6 separate regions of the Homo sapiens genome follow, and all the other regions are linked to region 3. Evidence: promoter capture Hi-C in 16 types of primary human blood cells and fetal thymus (Javierre and others, 2016). All regions are on one chromosome and are shown on one strand. The core of a region is centred on a gene start or on the middle of the fragment in contact, and the rest is flanking DNA. Distances in the headings are between cores, read along the strand shown.

Region 1 (4,137 bases), core at 227-2,726, 760 kb before region 3:
TGTGGCTTCATTGAGGATTTCACATGGTCACCTTGGTCTCAGTCATTTTTCAAGAGGAAAATGGGGATCTTTCCTTATGCAGAAAAAAGTATAACCAGTGATAACCAGTTTAGATTAGATAATACTCTGATAATACAATGTATACAATTGAAATGAGGTAGGCATTTGTTGCTAAGAACAGGCTAGAAAGGAGGAAGAGGAGGAAGTCTTTATTTGCAAAAATTGTTAATACTTTTTAAAAAGCCTTTTCTTTCAGGTATGTCTCTGGATAAGCCTTATCAGATATGGGACTTTTATAAAGGATCACTAATATTTTTTCAGAAGATGACGCCTCATTTAGAGGATAAAATATTTTAAGTTATTTTGATATTCAAGAGGAGCATTATTGGGACTGTTTCAGATTTTATCACCGTGATGTGTTAACCCTATTGCCAAATATTCTCTAACATGTACCCAGTGAATTCACACATCTTGCTGAGCTTCTGAAAACAATAGGTTCTTTCCAAAGGGGATCAAGTGGCCCTGGGAGACCCGGCAACAAACCAAAAAGAAGGGCTGTTGCTGTGTCTGTTTACAACTTTTCCAGATGCTGGCAGTACCTGTGGACTTAAAAGTGTTTTTTAGAGGATCGCCATGGTTATTGATCACTACTTTATGAACTAAACAGCATTTTCCAGAAAAAGGGGGTTTAACTTGTTACAGAATTGGAGAAGTCTTTGCAAAGGACTGATTTAAGCCCTTCTACCCAACACCTTCCCCTGTGTAGATTTGCATACAGCTAAATCTAAAATATTCTGCTAAAGACTATTGGATGTATGGTTGATGGGATGAAACCTTTGATTAAATTTCCTTTTGGTGGAGACATCCTGTGGTAGGTACAGATAATCCAACAAGAGTCCCCATTTCTTTGAGCTTAAAAAGGACACTGTCGAGTAGGTAGGAGGAAACCTGGCAGAGCCCCTTATTTTTGGCCTAAAAGGACTGAGCACCAAGATGTCTTTTGAAGTTTTAAGCTAAGAGGTTTCCAGTGCAATACAATATATACAAGTGAAGTTTTTACCTCAGTTTTGCAATGGACTGCAAACTATACTTATTACACCACTACACCTTCTCTCAAGCCTGCCAGGGCCTCCATTTATGTATGTGGCTTACAGCTTAAAGTCAGTAGTTGGACTACTATATGAACTGTTACTATCATGTTTTATACCGGTCGTAAATGCACTCCCCAAACTACAGGAAAGCGGTATGTTTATTTTTTAAACCAGCTTTTAATTTTCTTAGTATTATTTATTGTAGATGCAACTGTTTTTATTCTGTTGGGGGGCTTGGGATTATTGCACTTAACTTTGCAGTTTGAGTGAACTGTGTTGAAAAAGTTAATGAAAGCAGTTGGTACTCAGACAAATAGCTGAAAACTAGTGAATGCTAGGTTGTTATCAAGTTTTTATTTGACATTAAGGTTAAAAAGATATATTTATTTTCTAAATATTTTGGACTTTTTTTTTGTTTAACTCTTTATTAGCTGCTAAGTAAATTGAAGTGTATTTAATGATGTGTTAAGTTAACCCGATTTATGGAAGACAGTAAAGAACAGCCCTCTGTAGTCAGTAAAGTTTCACCTTCTAAAGAATATATTTTGAATTAGTTTTATGAACTCTGTTAAAATTCTGACCCATTACTTGCCAATTTATAAAAGCCTATTTTATTACAAGGCATTGTCTCTGGAAAAAAAAAATTCCCTTAATTCTTAAATGTCATTAGATGTAGAAAGAAAAACTAAATGTTACTAAGGATTATTAAGAAATAGTTTTTTAACTATTAAGATTTTAAAAACTTTCCTGTAAAGTTGCTTTTAATAAGTATCAAATTTTCTGTATGATCATGTAAAATTCATAATTTGTGCAAAGCAGAGGAAAAATAAATTCTTAATTTTGTTTAGACTTAACCTAAAATGACATTTATAAGTTTTAAATATGCAGATTTTAGAGTTACATATTGTACAATGATGATAGGTTTTTCTAGTTTTTATTTTTCATCTGAATGGAGACTTTATTTGGGAAAGTGTTTTAATTGTTAAAACTGATATTTAGTTTGAGAATGACTTTGTTTACTTTTGTTTAGACTACTAAAATGTGACTTACATGTTTTGATTGGACTAGTCTGCAATTTTCTCATCATAGCATGAGTTGGCAGAGAATATCTACTTCCAGCAGTACATTTAAAGTTTGGTTTATAGGAATTAATTTGAGAATCAAAATGTAGGAATTTTAAAATAATTTGCTCACTAAAAAAATTAAGATGTTAAATAATGGGTTATTCTTTGTACTTATCTCTGTCAGAAACTCTTGCTTTACTCTTTGTTCTCCCAGCAGTTTTTGGTTTAATTTCTAATGTGTCTAATTTGTGTAGGCGTCGACCAGAAGATTATGATATTCATAACAGCAGAAAGAAACCAAGGATTGACTATCCCCCTGAGTTTCACCAGAGACCAGGTTAATATTTTATAATCCTGCAGATATTTGATTTCAAATTATTGGAAAAAAATTAAAAAATTAAAAACAACCCTCACAATCCTGCAGTTTTAAAAGTGAAAAAAATTCAGGACCTGACTACTTAAATCTTGAGAAATTTTAGTAGTTCTCATTAGTGTAATTCTTCCCTTAACTTCGTTAAGGTTGTCTAGTCTATTCCAGTGTAACTCATCATACCCTATGAATTACCTGAAATTGCTAATTTTGCAAAAATGGAAACTTATCTGCACATGTGTTTAAGGTTAAAAGTAGTTATGAAAAGCAATAACCTTATATTCTATCAGGCTTTTTGTTCCCTATGGTAGTTAGTGTTTCATGTGATACATATACATACAATGCTACTTTTTTTAAATAAAAATCTTTATGTCTTTGGAGAGGAATGGGAAATACTCGGTATGTAATCTAAATGTAGCTTTTCAATTAATCTATCCCTTACTGAAATTTAAGAGAGCAAACTATATTCAAGAAGGGATATCATGTATTTGAAGAGAGTCAGTGATACACTTGTGAAACTTAGGCAGTTAGGAGATTGATGTTAGTGATCATTATAGCACTATTATGTAACAAGTGGCTTGATTAGCCTCATTCTTCCAAAATAGGTTGTCCTGTTGTAGAAAGTGAAAATAGTTTTTCCCCAGTAACATGACTACTCAAATGTTTTTACATTTTAATTTGTTGGGTTCTTATTAAAAGAAGCAGGGGAAAGAATATTTTTCTAACCACCATCGATTTTTCATTTTCAGTGTATACATCTTCATTTTTGCAACTTTTGCAATTTTTTCCCCCTCCCCCTTAAGTTTACATTTTAAAAAGCTTATCTGTGGTTTTCTTGGTAAGACCTACATATACCCAAGGTGGAAAGTAAACATTTGTTTTAAGGAAGTCCTGTCATAGTGTGCTCAAGATAGTTCCTCTGCCCTTACCTTCCCTGTGAAGCAGAAGGAAGAAATTTTCTGATTAGCAAGATTTGGAGTGTGAACATAGAAGATACCTATCTGAAAGCTTCTCTAGCAGTTTACAATTCTATGATATCATTAGTTATTTCCTAGATTATCATGTAATCTGAGAAGAAAATTTGAAAATGGGATAATACAGTAGTAGCATCACTTAAAGTACATATTTCATGGAAAGAATTGAAACGAGTGGTAAGGAAGGTTTAATTATAATGCCATAAAAGAAAAATATAAATTTGATTTACTAAAATGCTTGATGTTTGAACAGGGTATTTAAAGGATCCACGATACCAGGAAGTGGACAGGTAAGTCGGGTTCACTCTTGCCTAGTTTTGAATTACATTCTTGGAACTAGTTTATGAATTACCTGAATTTAGTTTCACAAATCTTATTCCCAACAGACGATTTTCAGGAGTTCGCCGAGATGTGTTTTTAAATGGGGTAAGCATTTCATTTTATCTATTTAATGTGGATAAAATCAGGCTCTGATTTATTTTGCAGTTCTGTGATAATTTTTAATTATATTGACATTATCATCTTTTATTTTAGTCCTACAATGATTATGTGAGGGAATTTCATAACATGGGACCACCACCACCTTGGCAAGGAATGGTTTGTATTATTCTATTTTTATAAGTTACATAACTTAATTT
Region 2 (4,790 bases), core at 266-2,765, 600 kb before region 3:
AGTAGGTCACTTGAAAAGGGAATGTTATTGGACTTAACAGTAGACCTTTCAGCAGAAACCATACAAGCCAGAAGAGATTGGGGGCCAAGCTTTATTATCCTTTAATAAAAGAAATTCCAACTAAGAATTTCATACCCTGCTGAACTAAACTTCAGAAGCGAAGGAGAAATGAAATCCTTTTCAGACAAAGGCTTAGTGAATTTCTTACCAGATACGTAAGGTCCGTCTTACAAAAGTGCCTATAGGGAGCACTAAACATGGAAATTCAAGAATGATACCTGCCACCACAAAAACACACTTAAGCACATACCCCATAGACATTATAAAGCAGCTATACAACCAAATCTACATAACAATCAGCTAATAGTACAATGAAATATTGACCCTGAATGTAAATAGGCTAAGTGCCCCACTTAAAAGGCATAGAGTGGGAAGTGAGATTAAGAATTAAGACCCAACTGACTTCAATAGAGCCATCTTAAGAGTAATGACATCCATAAGCTCAAAACAAAGAGCTGGAGAAAGATCTATTCAGGCAAATGGAAAACTAAAAACAGCAGAAGTAGTTATGCTTGTATCAGTTCAAAGAGACTTTAAACTAACAATGATCAAAACGGACAAAAAAGGGTGTTACATGATGATAATGGCTGAATATAGCAAGAAGACTTAACTATTTTAAATATGTATATACCCAACATTGGAGCATGTGGATTCATAAAGCAAGTTTTTAGATATCTATGAAGAGATTTAGACAACCACATAATAATACTGGGGGCCTTCAACTCTCCTCTGCTAGTGATTAGATTAATCACTGAGGCTGAGAACTAGCAGATATCATGGTCTTAAACTTGACACTTGACCGATTAGACCTCATAAATATCTAAGGAATACTCCACCCAGTGATAACAGAATATGCATTTTTCTCATCTGCACATGGCACATAGTCTAAGATCAACTACATGCTTGGCCATAAAGCTCATCTCAACAAATTAAACATAAATAGAAATCATACCTACCACACTCTCATTGTAGGGCAAAAAATTAGAAATTATGCCAAGAAGATCTATCAAAGCCATACAATGGAATGGAAGTTAAACAATGTGCTCTTAAATGACTTTAGAGTAAAGAATGAAATTTGGGCAGAAATAAAAAAAATTATTTGAACCTAATGAAAACAGAGACACAATATACCAAAATCACACAGATAAAGCAGTTTTAAGATGAAAGTTTATAGTGCTGAATGCCTACATCAACAAGTTAGTAAAATCTCAAATTAACATTCTAATGTCACACCTAGAGGAACTAGAAAAACAAGAGCAAACCAACCCCAAAGCAATCAGAAGAAAAGAAATAACTGAAATCAGAGCTGAATGGAATGAAACTGGGATGCAAAAATCCATACAAAAGACAAATGAAGCCAAAAGTTTGTTGTTCGAAAGATTAAACAAGATTGATATACTGCTAGCTATACTAGTAAAAAAAAAAAAAAAGAAGATCCAAATAAACACAATTAGAAATGACAAAGGTGATATGACAACCAACTCCGCAGAAATACAAAAAATCCTGAGAGACTATGGTGAACACCTCTGTGCACACAAACTAGAAAACCTAGAAGAAATGGATACATTCCTAGAAACACAAGCCTCTGAAGACTGAACCAGGAAGAAATTAAAATCTTGAGCACACCAGTAACAAATTCTGAAATGGACTTGGTAATAAAAAGCCTACCAACTAAAAAAAGTCCTGGACCAGATGGATTTATAGCCAAATTCTACCAGATGTATAAAGAACTGGTCTCATTCCTACTGAAATTATTTCAAAAATCTAGGAGGAGGGACTCCTCCCTAACTCATTCTACAAAGTCAGTATTATTCTGACACCAAAGCCTGGCAGAGATACAGTGAAAAATGATAACTTTAGACCAATATCTCTGAGAACATAGCAGCAAAAATCATCAACAAAATACCAGCAAACTGAATCCAGCAACACATAAAAAAGTTAATTCACTATATTGAGATGGGCTTTATTTCTGGGATGCAAGGTTGGTTAAACATAAGCAAATCAATAAATGTCATTCACTACATAAACAGAATTAACAATAAAATGACATGATCATCCAATAGACACAGAAAAAGTCTCTGACAAAATTCAATATCCCTTCCTGTTAAAAATCCTCAACAAATTAGGCATCAAAGGTACTTCAAAGTAAGAGCCATCTATGACAAACCAACAGCCAACATCATATTGAATGGGCAAGAACTGGAAGCATTTCTCTTGAGAATTTGAATAAGACAGGTAAATTCACTCTTGCCATTCCTATTCAACATAGTACTGAAAGTCCTATGCAGAGCAATTAGGGAAGAGAAGGAAATAAAAGGCATCCAAATAGGAAGTCAAACTATCTATTGTTTGCAGAAAGTATGATTCTGTACCTAGAAAATCCTATAGTCTCTGCCAGAAGGCTTCTAGAAGTGAAAAATGACTTCAGTAAAGTTTCAGGATACAAAATCAACATAGAAAAGTTGGCATTTCTATACACCAATAACATCCAAGCTCAGAGCCAAATCACAAATGTAATTTCATTTACAATGGCCACAAAAAGTGTAAAATACCAAAGAATACAGCTTATCAAGGAGGTAAAGGATCTCTGCAATGGGAATTACAAAACATGGCTGAAAAAAGTCAGAGACAACACAAACAATAAAAAACATTCCATGCTCATGGATAGGAGGAATCAATATTGTTAAAATGGCCATACTGCTCAAAGCAATTTACAGATTTAATGTTATTCCAGTTGTTATAGGAGTTATTAAGAAATTATTTTAGGAAGATAGGAAAAGGAGTCCTTGGGAAGTTTTTTTGTTTTGTTTTGTTTTTTTTAAAGCAGTTCCAGAAACTTTTCTTATATAGCAGAAAAGCCCTGGCTGGGCCAGCAAGCTTCCATATGCAAATGCCAGCTGTTAGAAACTGGGTCCACCCAAACATGGCGATTCCCACCAATTCTTCAGGTCCCCACATGTGCCTGGCAACATGGCCGCCCCCACATATGCCCACTTATGTAGAACATCATGGCACCTGCACTTGCATACTAAAAGGCCAGGGTAGGGGGCCAGTTTTTTTTGCGGGCTACTTGAATGACATACCTGGTCAAACCAATCCCCTGGGTCCTATGCAAATCAGACATTGCCTTCTCATATAACTGGCTGTTTTCAGCCAGACTTGGGGTTTCCTCTTTTGGGTTGGAGGCCCCCTCCCTCTGTCTCTGTACCTGGGAGCCTCTTCCTTCTTTCTTGCCTATTATATGCCCCTTAAAACCACTCCACGTGTGTCTGTATTGTTTTATTCAAACCAGCACGAGATAAAGGACCCTGGTGTTCCTCCAGTCATTGGGGCCATATCACAATCAACCAACCAATGACATTCCTCACACAATTAGAAAAAAATGATTCTAAAATTTATATGGAACCAAAAAAGTGCCCAAATCGCCAAAGCAATACTAAGCAAAAAGAACAAAACTGGAGGCATCACACTACCGGACTTTAAAGTATACTGTAATACTACAGTAACCAAAACAGCATTTGTTCTGGTACAAAAACAGACAAATAGACCAGGGGAACAGGATAGACAACCTAGACATAAGCCAAACACCTAGAACCACCTGATACTCAATAAAGTTAACAATAACAAACAGTGGGGAAAGGACTCTTTGTTTGATAAATGGTGCTGGGATAACTGGCTAATTGTATGCAGAATATTGAAACTGGACCCCTTCTTTTCACCATATACAAAAATCTTTTCAAGATGCTTTAAAGACTTAAATGTAAGATGTAAAGCAATAAAAATTCTAGAAGAAAACTTAAGATATACCATTTTTGACATTGGCCTTAGCAAAAAATTTATGACTAAGTCCTCAAATGCAATTGCAATAAAAACAAAAATTGACAAGTGAGACCTAATTAAACTAAAGAGTGTCTGCACGGCAAAATAAATCATCAACCAAATGAAGAGACAACCTATGGAATGGGAGAATATATTTGCAAACTATGCATCTGACAAAGGTCTAATATTCAGAATCTCTTAAACAACTCAACAAGCAACAAACAAATAACCTCATTAAAAAGTGAGAAAAGAACATGAACAGACACTTCTCAAAAGAAGACATACAAGTGCCCAACAAATATATGAAAACATGCTCATTATCACTAATCATTAGGGAAATGCAAATCAAAACCACAATGAGATAACATCCCATAGCAGTCAGAATGAGTATTTTTAAAAAGTCAAAAAACAACAGATTCTGGCAAGGGTGCAGAGAAAAGGGAACTCTTATACACAGCTCGTTGGAATGTAGAGTTCAGGTTCAGCCACTGTGGAAAGCAGTGTAATTTCTCAAATAACTTAAAACTATTATTCATCCCAGCAGTTTCACTATTGGGTATATACCCAAAGGAAAATAAATCATCCTATCAAAAAGACACATGCACTTGCATGTTCACTGCAGTGCTATTCACAGTAGCAAAAACATGAAATCAATCTAGATGCCCATCAGTGGTGCACTGGATAAAGAAAATGTAGTACATATACACCATGAAATATGATACATCCATAAAAAAATCATTCTTTTTTATGATCACTCTTTTTCATGTCCTTGTGGCAACATGGATGCAGCTGGAGGCTATTATCCTAAGGAAGCTCACACAGGTACAGAAAACCAAATACCACAAGTTCTCACTGATAAGTAGGAACAAAACATTGAGCACACATGGACATAAACATGGGAACAGTGGCCA
Region 3 (4,276 bases), core at 1,405-3,904:
TTTGGCAGAGACCCAACTTTACATTCTGCAGAGCCTCTCACCTTCCTCTAGCCAATCAGCTCCAAAGATTACTTGGCTATATACCTTTGGCTCACCTTCTGTTCAAAGATTCCCTGGCACTTTGCTGCCAATTGCTTGGAAATTCCACTTATTTTGCTTAGATTTTTCTCATAGCTTCTATTTTCAAGTACTCTAATTATCACCATGCTCACTCTCCTTGGAGTCATATTACTTGCAGACCTCAAACTAATTTTAGTACCTGAATAAGAGTATGATAAGTGATGAAAGGGTAAGAGAATGAATCTAACCTTTAGTGTGAGCCAGGTGTTTTACATATGCTATCCCTTTAATCCCTGAAACCACCACATAAGTAGGTATTATTGTCATCCTCTTGCTCTCTTCTCCCTGACATACAAGTAAAAGGTACTTAGTGGTCTAACTCAGAGGCCCATGCCTGTAATTCTAGCACATTGGGAGGCCAAGGTGGGCAGGTTGCTTGAGCCCAGGAGTTTGAGACCAACCTGAACAACGTGATGAAACCCTGTCTCTATAAACAATACAAACGTTAGCCGGGTGTGGTATGCGCTTGTAGTCCCAGCTACTCAGGAGGCTGAGGCAGGAGAATCACCGGAGCCGGGGATGTCAAGGCTGCATGACTAGTGATTGCACCATTGCACTCCAGCTTGGGCAACAGAGGAGACACTGTCACACACACACACACACACACAGACACACACCCACACACACAAAGATACTTTACTATAAATTCAAATAGAAACACAAGTTAATTTCATTGGAAATATTTATGCCTATAGGTATTCATTCTGCTTCAAAGAATGCTTTCTAAGAGAAGGTAAAGAGTAGAAATTTGGTAAGGAAGACATCATTCCTACTATATTAAGCCTCTTGAAAATAAAATCTTTGTGTTTTTTTCCATATTCTCCAGAAATGAGTGATGCTTGGTGCATAGGAGGCACACAATAAATGTTGAGTGAATAAATTGATTGAACACCTACTGAATCCTAGAATGTACCTTAGGAGGCAAGTAGCAAGTAGTATACTCTCTATCTTATAGTTGAAACAGTCTCAAGGAGATTGAGTAACTTGCACAAGATCACAAGCTATAAGTGGCAAAACCATCAGATAAAGGACACTCTAAAATTCTTATTCTTTCTGCTAACCATACCAATGACATGTCTTCTTTAAGCATTTAAAAAAAACTGCTATCATAAACAGTTATTATAAATACCTTGGAAAACATTCAATGAACAACCTGATTTAAATTACTAATTAGAATTTTTTTTTCTCAACTTCCCTTTCCTGGCAAAGTGTGACTATGTGGCTTACCTGTGGTGACAAGATTGAATTTACATTAAAAGCATATAGGATCAATCTAAAAAATTCTAATATAACTGAAAGGTAATTATTTATGCATGTTTAACATCCATAACAGAATACAAATTACCATGTCTTTACTCTCAAATAGTAAATGATCTGATTATATATGTAAGAAATGTGAATATGCTATTATAGATTTTTCATATATATAATTTTTCCACAAGTATTCATAAATCCTCAGAAAATATATTTTAGCATCATTAAACATTTCTGATGGAATTTCTGAAAACCTTAAAATTTTTCTAGTTTTAGTCAGTATACAATTTCATAAAATTTGACCTAACTTAATGATTTTTTTATTTAATAACAGGCAATTTTGGGCTTATTTCTCTAATTAATTTCAAGTCATCCATAATTACTGTTTTAAAAGTAATGATTTTAACTAACTATAAGTTTTAATTATTACATTTAAAAATACAGAATGCTTCATGGATTTTCTTAGAGCAAAGGTATTTATGTAGCTTAGTGTACTTAATACCCACAGTAGTACCCCAAAAATTAAAAGTCACTATCTTGAATAGTATTTTAGAACACATAACTATATATAATGTTAAACAGTATGAACTTTGTCATTTTAACAATTTTTACAAAAGCCATTTTTAATAATTTGATCATTATAAACTTCAAATGACTCAGAACAGGAGCAGGTTTAATTTTAATCATGATATCATTTTATCTTAATGGTACATGTCATCATTGAAGCATAGCAATAAATTGTGGAGAAAATACAAGAAACATTTTATCTCCCAAGCCAAAATCTTTTGTGATATTTAAATAAATTCTTTGGAAATTTAGCTTATTGACTTTTTTATATTAGTGCCTTAATATTACAACCTCTGTTATTATACATATTATATATGTGTATACATACAGGTTTAAGCCAGACATTGTATTTAAATTATGAAAAATTGGAATCATTTTTCTGAGCTCAAAGAAGAGAAGATGATTTAATTTCAACAGAAACAAGGAGGTCTTAACACATCACATCACCATGAAATAAATATTAAATTAAAACAGAAGTCTTAGGTTTAACATTATCATCTATAGACTCACCCGGTATCCTGACCGCTTGATTAATAAAAAACCTTCAAAGTACAAAGGTAGAGCAGTAATCTTTAACCTTTCCTGGAAGATCCTGCGAGGGGCTGGTTTTGGGGGCTTCTTAGCCATCATACCCCTCTCTTTGGTGTGTGGTTTGGTTTCTCGTCTCAAACAAAATGAAATCTTCCTTCTGTGAGAGGAAAAGGCAACTGTTCAAAGAGGAAGTCCCAAATTGCTTTTTAACCACCAACACTACCACCAACAGGACACACACACACACAGACGCACACACACACACACACACTTTTTTTTCCATTACTTTTTGTGAGGTAAGAAAGAACAGGTGTAGACTGACTTTCAGAGGGCAATCTCTGGGTAATCCACATGTGCTTAGATTTAAAGCGCAAAATAAACAGAAGATTAACATCACCAGAAGATGAAAGAAACAGGTGTAGAGATTGTGAACTTTAGGGGAGATATCAAGAACACAGTTATTCTTTCTATCTTTGTTTTTGTTTATTGGTGTCCATTTTTATTTGCAGAAGACATGACTTGAATAAACTCAGCTTCATTAAAAATTACTTCATAGAATAATTTTATTAGTACTACTTCTGTTGGTTAAATATTTTAGGGTCAAGTTTTGTGTAAATAAAAAAAATAGTTGTATCTCATGCTCATTTGATGCTTCACTAAATATAAACCACAATTATGGGAACACGGAATATGGAATTTTTTTCTTTTTTCTTTCTTTCTTTTTTTTTTTTTTTTGCCAGTAGATATTCCAAGTACATGAGTTCCCAATGAATATTTAGTGCTATGTTTTGAATGTGTCCTCCAAAACTTATGTGTTAGAAACTTAATCCCCAATGCAACAGTGTTTAGAAATGGGACTTTTAGAAGGTGATTAAGTCATGAGGCCTCTGCCCTCATGAATGAATGAATTAATTAATGCTGTGGGAGTGGGTTTCTTTCTCTTTTTTCAGAGGCAGGGTCTTGCTCTGTTGCCCAGGCTGGAATACACTGGTGCAATCACAGCTCACTGCAGCCTTGACCTCTCAGGCTCAAACAATCCTCACACATCAGCCTCCTAAGTAGCTGGGACTACAAGGCACGCGCCACCACTCCTAGCTAACTTTTTCATTTTTTGTATAGACAGTATCTCCCTATGTTGCCCAGGTTGGTCTCAAACTCTTGGGCTCAAGCGATTCTCCTGCTGTGGCCTCCCAAAGTGCTGGGATTACATGTGTGAGCCATTGCACCTGGCCTGGAAGTGGGTTTTTTATAAAATCAAGTTTGGCACTTTCTCACATGCTATCATCCTCTCTTGCTCTTCTATCTTCTGCCATGGAATGATGCTGCATGAAGGTCCTCATCAGATGCTGGCCATGTTCTTTGACTTCCAGACTCCAGAACCATGAGCGAAATACATTTCTGTTCATTATAAATTACCAGTCTGTGGCATTCTGTTACAGCAACACAAAGGAGTCTAAGATATTTGGCAAAAAAATATCTGGCAGAGAAAGCTGTAAGTTTTCAAACTTTTATTTTGTTCTTTTGTGCTTTCTGAGCTGCAGACCATTGATACTATGATTCATGGATGGACTTCCCACAGTTATCTAGTGAGATTTATAAAGCTATACTGGGGCCAAAGTGCACTCAATGGTTGCATGTAGGAAATGGTCCTTAAGAGATTGGATTTGGCGTAGCACAGTGCAGGAAATGATGGGAGAAAAGAATACTAGAAGGAATTTTGATTTGTCTTACAGGGGTCCTAAGAATTTCTACCATTGCCTATTTCACACTCAGTATTTCAGAACTACTCTAGATTTAGAACAGC
Region 4 (4,430 bases), core at 1,658-4,157, 740 kb before region 3:
ATCTGCTTTTCTTTATGTTTCTTCCTCTCCCTCTCATCCCTTCACCTGTCCCTCCACCTTGTTTAGGGCTTACCTTAATTGTTAATGACGTGGAGATACTGTCTGTAATCTCTAAATGCTTCGTTAGCACTGTGGTCTTTCCTTAAGATGACACTTTTCACCCAATTTTTATTACTTGCTTATATTTTATCTTTCACAACAGAAGATAAGATGTATAGGGGGCAGAAGTTATGTCTACTTCATTTCTTTGCAAATCTGGCACTTCTGGTATATTTTAGTCACTATATTCTTTAAATGAATAATTGATTCTTATGTGTTGAATAATAACACCTTAAGTTAACTGACTATACTCTCAAAGTCTCCCAGGTATCTCAGGTTATTCTGTAATGGTAATGAAATTCACATACTTGTGATGGTACAGAAAAGAAATATATCAGTTTCTAATTGGCAGGTCACTTTCCTCACTTGTCATATCTGTCTTACCATGAGACAAACACTCTGAACGAAGAATACAGTCATTCCCCCTGAAAATGCAAAACAAAAAGAATAAAACAACTAGGAATAGGTTTACCTTAGGCAGGGGGTTGACAGGTTTGCAGTAGAGTCTTACAACAAATTCAAAATTAGGTAAGAGTGGGCGAGGAAATTCCAAATACCAGTAGTTTCGAATGAGCCACATTTCAGCTTTTCCCATTATCTCAGATAATTGTAGTGCATTTTCCTGAAGGGGGGGGAAAGGCAAAAGAAATAAAATTGTCATGTGAATATGCCAGGTAATTTTCTAAAATTATTTGAAATAATGTAGCCAAAATTTTTTATGACTTGCTAAAGCAAATATAAATGTGCATATTTATACATAATTTATATATTTTATAGATGTTGTTCATACATATGTAAGTAAAGTGGGTAGACTCTAATGTCACATTGGTATATACACAATCATGAATGATTATTAAAACGAGTCACTGTAGAATTAAACATAGATTTGTTTTCTCTCTAAAATACAAAAGTAACCATTATAAATTTAAAAACTCTTTGAAATCCACCATCACTTAATTCTACCATAGCCATAGCCATGTTTTTCAAGAGTATTCAGTCTAGTTTCTACAATTTAGGAAGCAATTTATTTCCTTAATCTTTGATTCTCCAAATGAATTGTAAGGTTTTGGGGTTTCTAGTAGCTACTACTGTATTTGATTCATAATAGGTGACTAATAATTTTAGTTTATTAATAATATTGATATTGAAAGTAACAGCTGGAAAATTTTTACAAATTATTAAAATAGTGATTTGTGCTCAGCCTTATTTAGATTCATATTTTCTTTAATGGAAAGATATAGTTTTAAAAATATAAACTAATAATTACATGTTCACTCTTCAACAAGATTTTAGGCCTTAAAATATATGACTTGTAAGCAGTTGTTGAAGGAATGTGGAAGTCTGAGAGACCTCAAATTATATAGCTTTTTGCATCTGGGACAGACACTATTCACTCAAATATGAAGAAATCCTCATAGTAATAGTAATATGGAAAAATGTTTTAATTTTTTAAATTAGGAAACTAAGCTACATAAGGGAAACAATGTCCTAATGCTACATAAATAGTTGTAGAAATGTATATGTAATCTACATGTCTGCTCTCATCAAGACATTTATTGAAATTTCTAATGACTATTTTAAGGACAAAATAAAAGCATTGTAAGATGGATATGTAATTGCTTAGAGAAATCCTCAGTGGTTCAATTTGCAGGATTATGACTTACTGGAGCATCCTGTACAATTGATGGTCCCAGAGTTCTAACTTACTAATGTCAGGCTTTCCATAGTATTTGTGAGATTGATTGATCATCTTATATTTTCACTTCATCATTTCATTTACAAAAAACACACTCCTCTGATTTTATACTCATGCAAACTCACCTCTAAAGGCACAGGGAAAGTTAGGACTTAATAACCACCAATTAAAAACATGACTTACCTAGAACTTCACTGTAAAACTGGTCTCACTTCTTCATATCAAATGTTTGGAACCAAAAGTCAAAATAAAACACATATATAATATTTCTTACTGTCTCCATGAATGTCATCGAACCACTTAATTCTGACAGAATAACAGCTCCATAGGAAGGTGGAAGTAGAAATCCTCCACTGTATTTCTCAAATGTGTAGCCAGGAGAGAAGTGGAGACTGTACACAAAGGATATTTTTAATAGCTCAGCCAGCAGCTCTCCAAAGGGACCAATGGCATTTGCATGAACGACATCAGACCTTGATTCTTGTAGGTTTGTCATAAGTTTCTTGTTCAAAACTACATCTTTAAAGAACTTCTCAGTATAACCAGAATATTCCCAAAGAATATTCTTGCATTAATGAAAAATATGTTCAAAATATATGTTTTGGAAGATCATGTATCCATTTAGTAATCTGTTGTGTGAAAAAAAACCCTGCAAAATCATCTTTAATTACAGATATAGAATAAACCTCAAATTTAGTAACAGATGTTATGTTGGGATCAACAAGAATGGAAGCTGACAATGTTAGAACAGTCACCTCATGACTTATCTGCATAAGTTTATCCAGGATTGTCTTTATATTCATCCAAGGACTATATTCCATGGGCCACAGCGGCACATTTCCACAACTCCCAGAGCTAGAGTAATAGCTCAGCTGTATCAACAGAAGGACTGAAGTCCATTTCATAGCCATCTTGATAAAATACAATGCTTCTTTTTAAATTGTTGTTCCCTCTGCCATTCTTACGTTTTGTTTTTATGCAATGATAAATCAATCCGGAAGTTAAAATATAACTCTTACACCTCGAAGTAAATACATTATATAAGTAGTCTGAACATGTCAATGGCAAATAGAAAAACAAAAGGTAGATGACCCTGTGTTTACACAAATGTATTTAATGTCTCTTTTATGTTTTTAAGTGCTTTCATCTAGCTAAGATCAATGATTTTGCATGAACAAGTCGTCGCATTTATGTGATGTATTTTAGTATACTGCCAAAAGTAGTGGCAATAGAGAGGCTCTTTTGTCTTCAGTCTCCTTGACACAGAACTAGAGATAAAATAATTATATGGATGAATCAGCATTTTTTAGAGTTATTTTTATAAAAACACTTTAGTCATGACTTTTTGACGTATAATTCACATGCTATGCAATTCACCAATCTAATGTGTATATATTAGTCTGTTCCCATGCTGCTAGTAAAGACATATCCAAGACTGGGTAGTTTACAAAGGAAAGAGGTTTAATTGACTCACAGTTCCACATGGCTGGGGAGGCCTCACAACCGTGGTGACAGGCAAGACAGAGAGCTTGTGCAGGGGAACTCCCATTTATAAAACCATCAGATCTCATGTTTCTTATTCACTACCACAAGAACAGTATGGAGGAAACTGGAGGAAACGACCCACATGATTCAATTATCTCCACCTGGCACCACCCTTGAAATGTGAGGATTATTACAACTCAAGGTGAGATTTGGGTGGGGACACAGTCAAACCATATCAGTGTACAATTGAATGTCTCATTGTATATTAACAGACTTGTAAAATCAGAAAATAATTTTAGAACAGGTTCATCTCCCAAAAAGAAGTACTTTACCATTAGCTGTCAACCTCCACCCTATGCAATTTCTGCATATCCAGAGTTCTAGGCAACCACACACTAATGTACTATCTCTCTATGGGTTTTCCTTTTCTCGATATTTCATACTAATGAAATCATACAATACGTGGTCTTTTGTGGTTGGCTTTCACTTTTCATAATATTTTAAAGACTCATTCATGTTAAAGTATCAAGATTTCATTCATGTTTATTTCCAAATAATGTTATATACTATGGATATACTACATTTTGTTTATTATTCATCAGTTAATGGACATTTGAGTTTTTTCCAGTTTTTGGCTATCATGAATAATGTTATTTATTAATGTTCATGTACAAGTTTTGTGTAGACATGTTTTCATTTCTCTTGGGTATATACCTAGAGATGGAATTGCTGGGTTACATATTAGCTTTATGTTTAACTTTCGAAGAATTACTAGACTGTTTTCCAAAGTGGCCATACCATTTTCCAGTCTCATTAGCAATGTATGAGGATTCCAATTCCTCCACATCCTTGACAACACGTGTTATTAATTGTCAACACAAACAACATTTGTTTACTAGGCTCTTTCCCTATTGAACTGCTTTGGCACTCTTGTCAAATATCAGTTGACCATTAACATATGGTATATTTCAGGATTCTAAAACCTATTCGATCAATCTATACATCTATCTGTATGCCTATGCCACATTTTCTTTATTACTGTAGATTTACAGTTGGCTTCAAAATCAGTAAGTACAAGTCCCCCAACTTTGTTCTTTTTAAGAGCGTTTTGCTATTTTTAGGTCCTTTAAATATCTAATATAAATTTTAG
Region 5 (4,329 bases), core at 195-2,694, 780 kb before region 3:
ATACCCCTTTTTATAGGAAAACCAGGCTTTAAGTGTGTTTGAAACTTAAATTTATTTAAATTAACATTCTGCAAAATTATTTCATTCTGTATTAAATTTAGCATGTCTAAAGTATATAATATAAATGTTCAGGGTTCGGGGATGATATTTCTGAATAAGATCTAGTGATTTTATGAAAAGATTTGTATAGCATTATTTGCCTGTTTCATTGTGATAGTCTTGAAATTTTTTCTTTTTGTCTTCTACAAATGTATTTGATTCTGTGAAGACCTGTTGGATCTACTTTTTTACTGATTAGTGAGCTTTGACCCAGTACTTATTAAACATCTGTAAAACATTGATTTACTTCTATCAGACTATTTTTTTTATAATTTAGAGTCCGAAAATGGTGTTTGCCACCATTCAGATCTTGAAGAAATTTTTCTTAGCAAAAACATGAATCTAGATGATGAGAGAAGCTTTTTTGTTTGACATATCTTGATTTTAAATAAGATTTTTTAAAAGTAAACAAAAATAAAAACCCATATAGCCTGTTTTCATTTTAGAAAAATGATAGAAAGTACATATCAGCATTGGTACCACCCAAAATGATCAATTTTGCTATTCCAGACATAGTAATTTTCAGATATCTTTAGATTGTGTCTGTTTCCAAATGTAAAGGAAAATGATATCTTTTCCATTTCCTATGTAACCTTATCGTTTGTATTAACTATTCTCTTCAGTCACAGATTTCTTTCCCACTTTGGGGAAAATTTGAATCCCATTTAACCTGTTTATAGCCCCCAGGTTAATTAATAGACCTTTCTGTAATTCATGTGGGCTTTGTTTTTTTCCTGAAGCCACAAATGTAATTGTTCTGTCTCATCAGTTTTCATGGCTTTATACTTCCTCTTTGGCACACCTTAAATTTGGAAAGATGTTTTTGATATTGGAATAGTTAATGTTTAAACATTTACTATTAGCATTAGTACATTTTAAAATTTAAAATGGTATTTGTGTGTATTTCTAAGGTTTATCTTGTTGGACAAGGTAGAAGTGGGGACAAAACTGAGTTTTATGCTTTCATGATCATTGAATAAAGTCATAGTTCCCTTCTCTGAACAAGTTTTGTGCTTTTACAGTCCACACCAGCAGGCTCTAAATGTTTTTTTTATTATATAGCACATTGATAATTTTTTCATTTAACTTGCAGTTTGACATAATTTCAGATAAGCATAATAGCTACAAGTGCAGTGTGAAGAATTTTCTTTTACTCTCCAAACACATTCTGCAGATGTTAGCATTTTGTCACATTTGTCTCATTCTGTGTGTCTGTGTGTGTACGTGCATGTGTGCACACTTTTTTCCTGAACCATTTGTAAGTTGTAGACATAATATATCTTTGTCCCTAAATACTTAAATATGTGTTATAAGGACTTTGACTTAACCATAGTACAGTCAAAATTAGAAAAATAACATTGCTACTTACTCTGATTTACAAACTTTATTCAGATTTCACCAGTTTTTCCAATTATGTCCAATATTGTGGGCTGTGTTCAGTTATCATGCCTCTCTAGGTCTGCTTTGATATGAAATAGTTCTTACTCTTTGTTTCATGACAGTGACATATTTGGATGCCCTTTAATTTGGGTTTGTCTGATTTTTTTCCTCATGTAGGTTCAGCTTTTCCATTTTGCATAGAACATTACAAAAGCATTGTTCTATTCTCAGAGCATTGTTACAGGAGGTCCATGATGTTGATTTGTCTCATTACTGGTGATGTTAACTTTGATTATCTGGTTAATTTGGCCTGTGAAACATTTCTCCACTGTAAAGTCGTTTTCCCTTTGTAATTGTGGAGAGTGCACATTTTTGGTAAATGTGTATTTATAAGTTGTACATACGTATTTGTATACTAATTTATTGTACACATTTTAAAGCCCTCAGAAATATTAGAAATTAAAGAATGAGGTAAAAATAGAGACATTCTTGCATTTTCTTTTTATGCCTCAGTATATCTTTTCATGCCTTCTGAGATGTATACTCCTGGCTTTGTAGACCAGATAGCCCAGACTTCTGTTTGTGTGTGTGTGTGTATTTTGAGAAACTCACTCTTATCGCCCAGGCTGGAATGCAGTGGCACAATCTTGGCTTACTGCAACCTCTGCTTCCCAGGTTCAAGTGATTCTTGTCCCTGAGCCTTCTGAGTAGCTGGGGTTAAAGGCATGTGCCACCATGCCCTGCTAATTTTTGTATTTTTAGCAGAGCAGGGTTTTGCCATGTTGGCCAGGCTGGTCTCAAACTCCTGGCGTCACGTGATTGGCCTGCCTCAGCCTCCCAAAGTGCTGGGATTGCAGGCATGAGCCACCACGACTGGCCAATTCTTTACCCTGTATTAGTTTTATAGAAATTAATCTTGTGTCTTGATTCTGAAATAAAAGTAAAGCTTTTTATATAAAAGTAAAAGCTCCTAGGCGCTTGTGGCCTCACACTTAGTAAGTACTCAAAAATACATGTTCAATGATAGTGATTTTTCCCTATTAATTTTTAATTTTATTTGCAGATGGAGAACTTAATGTTCTGGATGATATTTTAACTGAAGTACCAGAACAAGATGATGAACTGTATAATCCAGAGAGTGAACAAGATAAAAATGAGAAAAAGGGTATGTAAGAGTTCTATTATTTTTGTTGAAATAACAGTATAAATAGAGGAGATTCAATTTCTTAAAAAAAATGACTGTGCTTTTTTGTGCTTGTTCCTTGAGGCAGTTAACACTAAATGTACATAATAAACTGGTATCCATATGAATAGGGATAATCTGTTTTTTTCTAATATATGAAACTTCTCAAATATATGGTTTTATTCCCATAGTTGAAAGCTATGTTTTCTTTTAGATTAACTCTGGAGAAGAAATCTCTCAGAAGACTTTTAAAGAAATGAGGCCTATCCCCCCTTCCTGATGTATATATTATTGTCAGTCTTTGGTGAAATAAATGGAATACTACAAATACTTCTTTTTTTTTTTTTTACATTGTATTTTAAAGGATCAAAAAGAAAAAGTGATCGAATGGAATCTACTGATACCAAACGACAAAAGCCTTCTGTCCATTCTAGACAACTGGTTTCTAAGCCACTGAGCTCATCTGTTAGCAATAACAAAAGAATAGTTAGTACAAAAGGAAAGTCAGCCACAGAGTATAAAAATGAGGAATATCAAAGATCTGAAAGAAACAAGCGTCTAGATGCTGATCGGAAAATTCGTCTATCAAGTAGTGCCTCCAGAGAACCTTATAAGAATCAACCTGAAAAAACCTGTGTCCGGAAAAGGGATCCTGAAAGGAGGGCCAAATCTCCTACGCCAGATGGTTCTGAGGTAGTAAATATTATTGCAGATATAAAACAGAAAGCCATTCTTTTTGAGGCTTTAGAACTGTTTATTCACCCTGACCTTGTCTTTTATATGACTGCTGATTCCCTTTTTCTTTAAACATCAGAGAATTGGGCTTGAAGTGGATAGACGTGCAAGCAGATCCAGCCAGTCTTCTAAGGAAGAAGTGAACTCTGAAGAATATGGCTCTGACCATGAGACTGGCAGCAGTGGTTCTTCTGATGAGCAAGGGAACAACACTGAGAATGAGGAGGAAGGAGTGGAAGAAGATGTGGAGGAAGATGAAGAAGTAGAAGAAGATGCAGAAGAAGATGAAGAGGTGGATGAAGATGGAGAGGAGGAGGAGGAAGAGGAGGAGGAGGAAGAGGAGGAGGAGGAGGAGGAAGAAGAAGAATATGAACAGGATGAGAGAGACCAGAAAGAGGAGGGAAATGATTATGACACTCGAAGTGAGGCCAGTGACTCTGGTTCTGAATCTGTTTCCTTCACAGATGGGTCTGTCAGATCTGGTTCAGGCACAGATGGATCAGGTACTACTTTTTATATGTAAAAGTTTGTCTTAAAAAAAGCTTGATAGGTTTCAGTCTTGAAAATGTTTAAATTATAAAATTGTTGAGGAGATGGGGGATATTAATAGGATTGTCTTGTGATCCTTTATATGCTTTTGAATGTTATAAATACATTTGAATAATCTTGGATAAGATTTACATATTTTAGGAAAGGCATTTCCTAGCTACAGAATGGTTGTGTTGTAAATGAACACAAGTCCATTTGATTCTGTATAAGGAAATGTATTTCAGATTTCTGTAAATTCTTAGATTTTCATACCAGTCAGCAGTTTATTTAAACACTGATGTACTTGAAGTATATTCATAGGAAACCTGTCCACTGGGTATTACAGTATTTCCTTGGTAAAATACCCCTAGATTTCCATCATATGGCTTCAGAATCAAAACAGA
Region 6 (4,367 bases), core at 426-2,925, 820 kb before region 3:
ACAATTAACTGTTTTACATGCCAGCATAATACCCTCTTAATAGTCACATTAAACATTAAGAGAATACTATTTCAGCCATTTCCTCTAATAGGTTGTGCTATATAGTCCTTTGCCTTCTTTTTCTTTTGTGATTATTCAAAGGAGGCAAGACAATAAGAGTATGAAGCACAGGGTAAGTACAAGAAAATTTTGCGAGGCACTGAACTCCTATAATAATCTTCATTCAAGATCATTAATATAGTAGTTTGAAAAAGATAAAATGAAAGCTTCAATCTAAATAAGTTCTAAAGATAACACATCAAGATCCATAGATGCAATTTAATCCTCACATTATACATTATACTGATTAACAAGGTAATTGCAAAATAAATTCCATGGTGGAAAAATATCAAAATATCAACAATATGTATCATGTGGAAAGGTGAGGTTTTTGATGATCATAGTACGTTCTTTTTTCTTTTGAAATATATTTTCTACATTTATGTATACTAATACTAATAGATATGTCAATTCGAACTTTGTGGCTTATCTCATTATTATCATTTACCTAAATAAAACTAGAATTAAAATATAACTACTGTGGTATTTATCTTCCTCTAAGCTTAGAAAAGATATAATAGCAGGACATCATCGAAAGTGTGAGAATTCAGTGTGCACATGCTTAGACGGCGTTGACTTCCATATACTCCCTTAAAGTTCCCTATTCCTCATATTTCAGATTCTACTACATATAGTTATTTTTAGACTATCAAGTCACAAAATTGAATTAATCACACCCTTCATTTCATTGCACATTTTCAGCGTCTGTGCAATACCCCTTTTTAAATTTTACCTTTCTACTTTTTACTACCTTTTTCCCATGCATCCACCATTCTCACCTCACCCCACCCTTACATATTTAATTTATACCCTACCAGTATATCATTGCTATATTCATTTAGATATATGTGTATCTTTAAAGATGAATTTGGTGTTTCTGGGCATATGCATGTAATATCCTTGAAAGTTATTCTTTTATAAATCTCATATTGTTTATTCCCCAATTTGTCATGATATTTTAAGAGCCATCCAGATAAATATTAATCTAGAACATTATTTCTGAGTGCTGAATATAACTTTATTATGTGTCTATCCCTTATTTTATTTCCCATTCCTCTGTCAATGGACATCTAGACTTTCTCCATTCTTACTACCACAAACATTGCTGTGAAAAATATTCCTAGGGACATGTGCAAGAGACCTAGAAGTGTAATTGCTACATCATTGAGAAAGTATAAAGATAGTTAATTTACCAAGTACTTTCAGGTTGCTCCCTGGAATGGTTGCAACAGCTTACTTTCCCTTAAGTTGAATGGGAGGTCTCTTATTTCCCAACATCCTCATCACTGCATGATATTGTCAGACTTTCCAATTGTTTTAATTTGCAGTTCTCTGATTACAGAGTAAGGGTAAGTCACTCTTCGTTTGCTTATGAACCATTTGGGATTCCCAGTTTATTTGTGTATTTTCTGTTTCAATAGTAGAATGCAAACTTCATAGGTGCTGTTGTTTATTTGCATCTCCATTCCTTTCCTGATTAGTTTTAACATAAATTTGTCTAGTCAATCTTTTAAAAGAAAAGCCAGTTTTGAGTTTTTATAGTTCATAGTTATATGTTTAGAATACGTTGAATGAATGATGAATAAGTAAAAAAGGAATGTCATTTGCTGTGTAACAAACAACTGCACAACTCAATGACTTATAACAACAAACTTTTTATCCTCACTCACCAAGTGCCCACCTACCTGTGGGTAGTTGTGGCTCTGAAGAGGCATATTGGGCATGGCTCCAGCCTGCAATTTGAATGAGGTCTGCAATGAGAGGAAACTGTTGTTTAGATTTTTTAAAACTTAGATTTATAGTTTACATGTTCCAAATTCCTTTTCTTTAAAATATAGGAAAAAAAATGATACCGAATATTTATGACCCAGTAAGCCTAGGAAAACATCTTGCAAGCTGAGTTGTCATGAAAATATCTTGAGTAAGATTATATTTGATTATTCTCTCTGCTTTAGTACAACTTAATATGTTTTACTTATATTTTCTGACTTTCATTGTAAAGATGATAAGCCTCTCCAATATGGCAAATTATTTTACTACAGAGACTGTCTTAACATAACATCTGCCCAAGGTTTATTTTAAAAAAAAAAAGAGCATGTTTCAGAAAATTGCATGAAGTCATCAAACATGTCTTATGTCTCATAGCAGAGTTGCTATTCAGTCAGTATACATGACCATACAAGTTGTTAAAATATTGAAACAATCCTATATACATGGTAAATAGAAGCCACTTTGAGACCCTGCCCCATGCCTCTGCCCCAGCCCACCAGAGGTGTACTCATAATCCGGACATGAAGGGCACAGCATCCAGGAAGCTGCTCTAGCAGTTTGGCTGGTGTCTGTTCTGATTGGTCAGTGCCCTATGTTGTACTAATTGTTATATATTTTAAATATCACGTCTGAAGATAGGAAATAGCGCAAATTCTCATGTACAATGTGTAAATAAACTCATGGGATTTTGTCGGGGGTGGGGGTTGGGCTTTGTTCCTCCAACAAATACGCACATATACATACGACATGCATGACACCTATGTATACGCTCCAAAATCTCTGGGATAAAGAAAGCAATACAGTGTGTCTCTCTTCCTGAAGCTGTTTATATTAAAGATGCCTCTGGCAGTTTTTCATCTAAACACGTTACAAAGCTTCACTTGTTCCACACTTTTCACATCTCTTGGTTAACTTCTGGATTGATTCCTTGTCTTACTTGAGCACATCCTCCCAAAGTGTTTTCAAACAGAATTTTTGTCAGCCTTCTGAGGCCTTGTGTACCTTACAATAACTTATTTCAGCCTTACATTGAATTAATTGGATATAGCATCCTAGCTTCAAATTTCTCTTATTTCAACAATTTCTCTGTCCTCTTTCTATCAAATACACTCAGCCCTATGTATCTTCAGGTTCTGCATTTACAGATTCAAACAACCTGGGACCGAAAATATTCAAGAAAAAACCAAATTAACAATTAAAAAAATACAAATAAAAACCAAAGCAGCATAACAACTATTTACATAGCATTCCTATTGTATTAGGTATCATATGTAATATAGAGATAATTGAATGTATACAGGAGGATGTATGTAGATTATGAGCAAACAGGCCATTTTATATAAGGGAATTGAGCATTCCTGGATTTTACTATGAAGGCAGTGGGTCCTTGAACCAATCCTTGAAGATACTGAAGAAAGACTGTACTAATATCACTCTTTCGTCCTGCAAAATTCTGTCACTGTATCTTACCTTTTCTCTCAGTTTTTTAGCACTGCTTTGTCCTTCCTGAGTCCTTCTAGAAGAGTTGATTGACCTGATCTTTCAGCTCACTAATTTGTATTTCAAGTGTGTTCACTCTGAAAAGCAGTATCTAAAAAACATCTATAAGGTTTATCTAATACCATACTTACTGAGTTATTTCAGTTATTAGGTTTTTCATACTGAATATCTCCAGTTGGTCCTTCATAACTGATTTTTCTGATTCATGTTTCTAATTTCCTCCTTTGGGTCTCTAAAAATATTTTTAGTCCTTTTAAAACAATTATTACACTTTTGAACATTTTTTTCTATCTGATCCATTCATTTGGCTTCCTCTTTTATTTTTATTTTTTTAGCTTCCTCTTTTAAAGATATCTGTTTGCCTACCTTCTTTTCATAATACATACATTCTTCACATTTTGTGATTTTGTTATTTTTTTCCTGTGAACATACAGTCCCTTATGGTCTTGGATGATATTCAGATGATTTAATAACAAGGACAGCATGGACACCAACTAATCCTAACAGAATGCTGAACATATTAGAACAGATAGATGCTCACTGTTAACTACCTGATATGGGCTCAATGACTGTCGTCCTAACTTGAGACTATCAGCTAATCATACTAATTAAGTGTACTATTATACCCTGATTAGTATCCTCAGATTACAAAGTTATTGTACCAAAAATCTCCTCCTAAAGACCCAATTCTGATGTCAATTTGATCTAAACTGGTTGACAACATAATTTCTAAATCTTTTCCCTGCAATGATTAAAGTATAATCCAACAGCTTCTTAAGATTTAAAGATAAGATTTTCAAGATCATAAAAGGTTTAACATAAGAAAGACTGTACTAATATCACTCTTTTGTCCTGCAAAATTCTGTCACTATGTCTTAACTTTTCTCTCAGGTTTTTAGCACTGTTTGTCACTTCCTAAGTCCTTCTAGGTAAGGACTAAGATAAAATAATTCCAAGAAAAGACCTCATGCTAGGAATAGTCTGTTTACCATCCAGCA

The links. Contacts are between HindIII fragments. The CHiCAGO score rates a contact against its expected background, and 5 or more counts as called.
Region 1: a contact is called between a fragment that was not itself captured here and the fragment with the promoter of STAP1 in region 3, in 3 of 17 cell types (total B cells, fetal thymus and naive B cells). The highest score is 10.7, in total B cells.
Region 2: a contact is called between a fragment that was not itself captured here and the fragment with the promoter of STAP1 in region 3, in 1 of 17 cell types (naive B cells). The highest score is 6.1, in naive B cells.
Region 4: a fragment that was not itself captured here is called in contact with the fragment with the promoter of STAP1 in region 3 in 1 of 17 cell types (neutrophils); the score reaches 5.1 in neutrophils.
Region 5: a contact is called between a fragment that was not itself captured here and the fragment with the promoter of STAP1 in region 3, in 5 of 17 cell types (total B cells, naive CD8 T cells, total CD8 T cells and 2 more). The highest score is 9.2, in total B cells.
Region 6: a contact is called between a fragment that was not itself captured here and the fragment with the promoter of STAP1 in region 3, in 2 of 17 cell types (fetal thymus and naive CD8 T cells). The highest score is 6.8, in fetal thymus.

What each region holds. Positions count from the first base shown.
Region 1 is chr4:68,318,478-68,322,614 of GRCh38, reverse strand. YTHDC1 (YTH N6-methyladenosine RNA binding protein C1) reads left to right here. Exons shown (of 17, transcript NM_001031732.4): 12 at 2,410-2,492; 13 at 3,753-3,789; 14 at 3,886-3,925; 15 at 4,034-4,096. Among named protein-coding and RNA genes, the nearest start is that of YTHDC1, 30 kb to the left of the region's middle. The HindIII fragment of the contact is 3,740 bases long and covers 1-3,346 here.
Region 2 is chr4:68,155,585-68,160,374 of GRCh38, reverse strand. No RefSeq gene overlaps it. Among named protein-coding and RNA genes, the nearest start is that of TMPRSS11F, 28 kb to the right of the region's middle. The HindIII fragment of the contact is 2,848 bases long and covers 92-2,939 here.
Region 3 is chr4:67,557,105-67,561,380 of GRCh38, reverse strand. It overlaps STAP1 (signal transducing adaptor family member 1), which reads right to left and starts at 2,654. Exons shown (of 9, transcript NM_012108.4): 1 at 2,452-2,654. The coding sequence starts at 2,571. The HindIII fragment of the contact is 12,125 bases long and covers 1-4,276 here.
Region 4 is chr4:68,298,601-68,303,030 of GRCh38, reverse strand. It overlaps the pseudogene LOC100422188. Among named protein-coding and RNA genes, the nearest start is that of YTHDC1, 49 kb to the left of the region's middle. The HindIII fragment of the contact is 6,217 bases long and covers 1-4,430 here.
Region 5 is chr4:68,336,598-68,340,926 of GRCh38, reverse strand. It overlaps YTHDC1 (YTH N6-methyladenosine RNA binding protein C1), which reads left to right. Exons shown (of 17, transcript NM_001031732.4): 2 at 2,543-2,644; 3 at 3,027-3,355; 4 at 3,477-3,900. Among named protein-coding and RNA genes, the nearest start is that of YTHDC1, 11 kb to the left of the region's middle. The HindIII fragment of the contact is 1,967 bases long and covers 461-2,427 here.
Region 6 is chr4:68,376,791-68,381,157 of GRCh38, reverse strand. No RefSeq gene overlaps it. Among named protein-coding and RNA genes, the nearest start is that of YTHDC1, 29 kb to the right of the region's middle. The HindIII fragment of the contact is 2,143 bases long and covers 604-2,746 here.